Regions from separate parts of the Homo sapiens genome. Here region 1 is linked to region 2. The links are contacts of gene promoters, found by promoter capture Hi-C in human tissues and cell types (Jung and others, 2019). All regions are on one chromosome and are shown on one strand. Each heading gives the region's core, a stretch centred on a gene start or on the middle of the fragment in contact. The rest is flanking DNA. Distances are from core to core; before and after follow the strand shown.

Evidence for each region. The method cuts DNA at HindIII sites, captures the fragments that hold promoters and counts their contacts. A contact is called where the count stands out against the background at its distance.
Region 1: a fragment that was not itself captured here is called in contact with the fragment with the promoter of ANO1 in region 2 in 3 of the 25 tissues and cell types used here (H1 embryonic stem cells, aorta and liver).

The regions. Positions count from the first base shown.
Region 1 is chr11:69,944,981-69,947,795 of GRCh38, reverse strand. No RefSeq gene overlaps it. Among named protein-coding and RNA genes, the nearest start is that of LINC02753, 120 kb to the left of the region's middle. The HindIII fragment of the contact is 8,856 bases long and covers 1-2,815 here.
Region 2 is chr11:70,077,008-70,079,874 of GRCh38, reverse strand. ANO1 (anoctamin 1) reads right to left here and starts at 1,558. Exons shown (of 26, transcript NM_018043.7): 1 at 1,161-1,558. The coding sequence starts at 1,268. The HindIII fragment of the contact is 18,532 bases long and covers 1-2,867 here.

The sequences.
Region 1 (2,815 bases), core at 257-2,756, 130 kb after region 2:
AGAGTTGTGGCAACTTTATGCAAGTCAGATCAAAGTGCTCCTTCTACAAGACACACCATTTCCACCCAGCAGAAAATCATGCAAAGATGCAGAGGTGCAGTGCCTGTGCTGAGAACAGTGCTCCTAAGGTGCCGCACTCTCCTGCAAGGCAAAATGCATACCGATGTGGGGGCGCGGCTTCCACTGAAATCCAGGCAAACTCTGAACTTGGAGGTTTTATATTTAGGTTGTATTAGTAATTTTCAATTCATAATTCATAATAAATACTTGTATTATTAATTATTATAATTAATACTTGTATTATTAATTATTATAGTTAATAATAACTAATTATTATAATTAATTATATATTAAAATATATTAAAAATATATTAAAATATATTGTATATAAAATATAATATAATTAATTATATATTTAAAAATATAATTAATAATAACTAATTATATTATAATTAATAGATAATTAATATTATGATTATTAATAACTAATAATTAACTATGATAATTAATAATAACTCATAATTAATAATTAATAATTAATAAAGGAACAGAGGGGAAGAGTTGCTATGGACTGAATGTTCGTGTACCCCCAACATTCATATGTGGAAACCCTAATCTTCAATGAGATGGGTTTGGGAGGTGGGGCCTTTGGGAGGTGATGAGGTCATGAGCTTGTGGTCCTCATGATGGGATTAGAGTCCTTACCAGAAGAGAGGCAAAGAAATGCTTTCTCTGTGTGTCTCCGTCTCTGTGTGTCTCTGTCTCTCTGTCTCTGTCTCTGTGTCTCTCTGTGTGTCCCTGTGTGTCTCTGTCTCTGTGTCTCTCTGTGTGTCTGTGTGTCTCTGTGTCTCTCTCTGTGTGTGTCTCTGTGTCTCTGTATGTCCCTGTGTCTCTGTGTCTCTGTCTCTGTTTCTCTCCCCACCGTGTGGGCACACAGTGAGAAAACAGCTGTATTAGTCATGCTGCCTATAAAGACATACCCAAGACTGGGCAATTTACAAAAGAAAGAGGTTTAATTGGACTTAAGTTCCATATGGCTGGGGAAGCCTCACAATCTTGGCGGAAGGCAAGGAGGACCAAGTCCTGTCTTACACGGATGGCAGCAGACAAACAGAGAATTTGCCACTCCAAGGCAAATGGCCTCAAACACCCCCATAAACGCGTCTTTTCTCTACCACAGGTGTCTGTTTTTGTTTGCTTCCCTCTTTGTGGCCATCAGAGCTCCACCTTCTCTGCCCGCCTCCTGCCAAGTGCCTCTTCTCTAAGTCCTAAGCTCCCCCACACGATGTCAGATCCCCTTCAGCCAAAGCCAAAACCCCTGATAAAACCCTCAGATCTCATGAGACTTATGTTCACTACCACGAGAACAGTATGGGGGAAACTGCCCCATGATTCAATTATCCCCCAGCGACTCCCTCCCACAACACGTGGGAATTATGGGAGTAAAATTCCAAGATGAGATTTGGGTGGGGACACAGCCAATCCATATCAACGGCTATCTGCAAACTAGGAATGGAGTAAGTGAGCCCTCACCAGACACTGTGTCTGCCAGAACCTTGGTGCTGGACTTCCAGCTTCCAGAAATGTAAGTAATAAATGCCTGCTGTTGCTAAGCCCCTCAGCAACAAGACATCAAGCTAAAAAGACAGACGAGCACATAGCACTCCATGGCAAATGGCCTCAAACATTCCCATAAACACATCTTTTCTCTACCACAGGTAGAGTCCTTACTCTTGTTTCCCTCTTGTGGCCATCAGAGCTCCACCTTCTCTGCCCACCTCCTGCCAAGTGCCTCTTCTCTAAGTCCTCAGCTCCCCCACATGATATCAAATCTCCTTCAGCAAAGATAAGCCTGCTTCCTTGAGAGGCCTCCCTATTAACAGAGCAGGGGTACCACCATGTTAAAGCTTAAGCCTCAGCTTGGAGGGGTCATGTCCCTCCCACCTCTGCCCCCGTGGCTTACCATAGTATGCCTTCTAATTACATCTGCACTCCCCGGCAGGCATTCTGGTAAGTAGAGTTTCCCCATTTTGTTTCATACAGAGGAGCACAAAGAAGAAAATTAAAACCATAAGCAATCTTGCTGTTGGAAGGTATCTTTTATTAGTCTTTAGTCCACTGTGAAGCACCTTTCTATGATGTTGGGTTTCCCTGATTTGGAGCATCCCTGAAACATATAACTCACTCACTCACCTACCCAGCCTTTCACCTACCCATCTACCCACATATCTATCCATCCATCCATCCATCCATCCATCCATCCACCCACCCATCCATCCATCCATCCAGTTACCCACATATCCACCCATCCATTTATCCATCATTCATTCACACATCAACCCATCCACCCATCTATCCATTCATCATCTGTTCATCCATCCACTCACATAGCTATCCATTAATCCATCCAGCCAGCCATCTATCATCCATCCACATATCCATCCACCCACTCATCCATCCATTACTCTCATTTCCTTCCTCTTTTCCTTCCTTCCTTCCTTCCTCCCTCCTTCCCTCTCTCCCTTCCCTTCCCCTCCCTCATTTCCCTTCCCTTGCCTTCCTTCCCTCTCTCCTTTCTTCCTTCCTTCTACCCATCCAGCAAATACTTGCTAGGCACCTGTCATCTCTACTGTTCGTGCTTATTGTTGACTGTAAAATGAATCTTTCTTTATTGAGGTCCCTCAATAAAGGTGGGAGCCAGGGGAGGGCCCTCTGGGTTCTTCCAGCTCAGCAAAGGGTGGGGTGACAGCATGGAAACGTGGTGTTCTTTTTGCATGACCGGGTGGAAGATTAAAATCGCCCCTGGTAGAAAGGA
Region 2 (2,867 bases), core at 309-2,808:
CTGTGACCCAAGGGGTGCAAGGCCTGACCAAGGCCAGAGTCCCTGCTGTCGCTGGAACAGAGACTCAAAGCAGGAGCTTTGCTCCCGCTTCATTCCCTGCCTCTCTGTGAGCTCCAGAGACTAGAGGGACAGGCCAGGGCCATCCTCATCCTGCTTGAAGCAGCCCTGCTGGGCCTGACGCCTGGGGAGGGGCTTTGATGGGGTCTGCATGGGAAGAAGGTAGAAGGGAGCTTCTGTCCTTAGGTCCCACAAATTGCTGCTGAGAGCTTCCCTCACCCCAAGAGGAGATAGCCAGTCCCAGCCCTGTCCTATCCTCTTCCGGCAAACTTTGTCCTTCAAGCCAAACCCTTCCTGGGAGAATTCTGCCCCCCTCTCTAAAACATAGGGTTACCTAGACCTCTGGGTCTGGCCCTGGGGAGGGTGGTGGGGATATTGGGGACCTCAGGATGGGGTCCCCAACTTACATGACTGGCTTCCAACCAGTGCCCCCACCTGAACCAGGCCTGGGCGCCCAGGGGAGACAGGGGCGAGGGTAGAAAGCAATCTCCAATGATTGACACCCTGGGCTTTGAGAGTTTCGGTGCCAATGCCAGGGTACCAGGCCCAGTGCCCTGGGCACAATATGCGTTTCTGGCAAGTGAGGACTCGGGACTCTGGCCCCAGAGGATAGTGAAGCAGTGGGGCCTGGCAGTTACCATCATCGTGGAGTGGCGACCAACTTGGCCTTCACCCAAGACCCCCACCATCACCCTCACCCTGGCTGCCCCAACAGGTACCCCTGGCCGCGAGCCAGGAAGGGAAGGTCCCATCCAGGGCGCCAGCCGTGAGCTCTTGGTTGGGCTCCGAGCTGCAGCCCCGGGTGAGGCGGCTTCGGGGCCGCAGAGCTCCGAGGCCGGGCCATGCCTGGGGGCCCGGCGCTGCGCTGGGCGGAGTGGGCGCCGCGCTCGGAACGCTCAGAGCGCAGGCGGGGCGCACGCACTTGGCCAGGGCCGGCGCGCCCTTCCCGGCACGCACGTGCGCGGGTGGGCGCCGCGAACCCTGCGCGGAGGGTGCGGCCCCCGCCCTGGGGTCCCAGGAGGCCCTGCCGCCGCCCGGTTCCCGCCCTCGCCAAGGCGCAGGTGCGCGGCCCTCCCGCCCGGGTCGCGGCCGCCCGCACTCACCGTGCCCTCGGACGGCAGGTAGCCGATGTCCTCGATGGCGCAGATGTTGATGATGTGGACGCTGCGGTCCTCGGCCGGGAGCGTCGAGTACTTCTCGTTGACCCTCATCGTGGCCGCCTGTGCGCTGGGACCGCCGGGCGGCGCGCCCTCCCCATCCACGGCCCCGGCGGCCTCTGCGGGCGGAGACCGCAGCGTTCGCGGCGCGCTCGCAGGGGGCCGGGCCTCCCCGCGCCCAGGCCCGCCGGGGACGTGGCCGCCTCCCGCTCCGCCCGCCGCCCTGGCCCGCCCGGCCCGCGCGCTCGATGCGGGGGGCGCCTGAGCCTCTCGGGGCCGATCGCGCCGCCACCCGGCTGCTGGTCCCGCGGGCCGGCCCGCGCCTGGTCAGGAACTTGGACGCCAGCCGGCCCGCCTTTGCCTTAAAGATATAAGCGCTCTCCGCCCGCCTATGGCAGGGGCGGTGGCCGCGCCGGTCAGATTTTCCGTAGAAATTTAAACACAGGAAGAAAAAGTATTCCATTCCTGCGGGCCCCTCCAAGTTTTATTTTTATCCAGGGAAAGTGCCCCTTTGGATTTTTGAGGGTTTTCATACCGGGTGTGAAAGGGGGGAACTTTCAATAGCCCCACCTGAAATAAAGTCCCCGAGTGGCAGGCGCTTCTGTGGCGCGTCACCTCCGCCTCCGGGGGGAGTGAAGCTTCTGAGATTGGAGTCTGGATCTCTGCCCCTTTCCCTCCACCCTGGCAAACTCCTGCTGTCACTCAGCACTCACCTCCTCCGGGGAGCTTGCCTGGTTCCTGCCGACCCGCCCCCTCCAGCTGCCCGCGCTCCTGGGGGAGTCTCTCCCGGGGCAGTCATCTCCCTGGAGCCCACTGATGTTACCGGTGCCCCCGAGTTTACGGAGTGCTTAGTGTTCTGTGCCCAGGTGCGTGCAGCGTCCCTGATGTAGGGCGTGAGTGTGTATCATCTCATTTAACCCCGCACCTGCAAGGTTGGAATGCGGGTCCTCATTTTGCAGAGGACACTCAGGCTTAGGAGGGCCAAGGACCAGTCCGCATCCTCTGAGGTGGGGCGGGGCTCCTGCAGAGCTTTCCCCACTGCTGGGCAAGGCTGTCCTGCTTTCTGGAGGGGCGGAGCGGGGGGGATGGTGGCTTTGATCTCTCTTACCCCCGGACCTAGCAGGGGTCTGGCACACTGCAGATCTTCAAGTCTTCTTCCCCTAAGGAGAATAAGGCAGGTCCCCAGGGGACGACCATACTCAGGTTAAGCCCCAGGGGCCATGCTGGCCACCACATCCAGTGGAAATAAAGTGTCCCTCTGCCTCTCACATCCTATGAGTTCTTCACGGTGTGCATCAGATAGCACCTCCTGCAGGAAGTCCTGCTGGATTCTCCCCTACTGTCCCCTTCCCACCCAAATATGCAGGCCTTCCTGTCTATCCAAAGAACCTGCCTGAACCCCAACTAGCACTTCATTTATTCCGTCTCATTTTACAGTGGGTTGTCTACCAGGTTCACACAGCCGATGCTCAATAATTGCTTGTTAAATGGCCACTGGGGAACATTCAAGGCCTACAGAAGTGATTAGAAAATTGTCTTTAAAGGCCACGATGTCGTCAGCGTGCCATGGTTCCAAGCATGGAACCTGGAGTCAGCTAGGATAGGGTTGGAGAGAAGGGGTGGGGTCTAGCTCCAGCTCTGGCACCTTCCAGC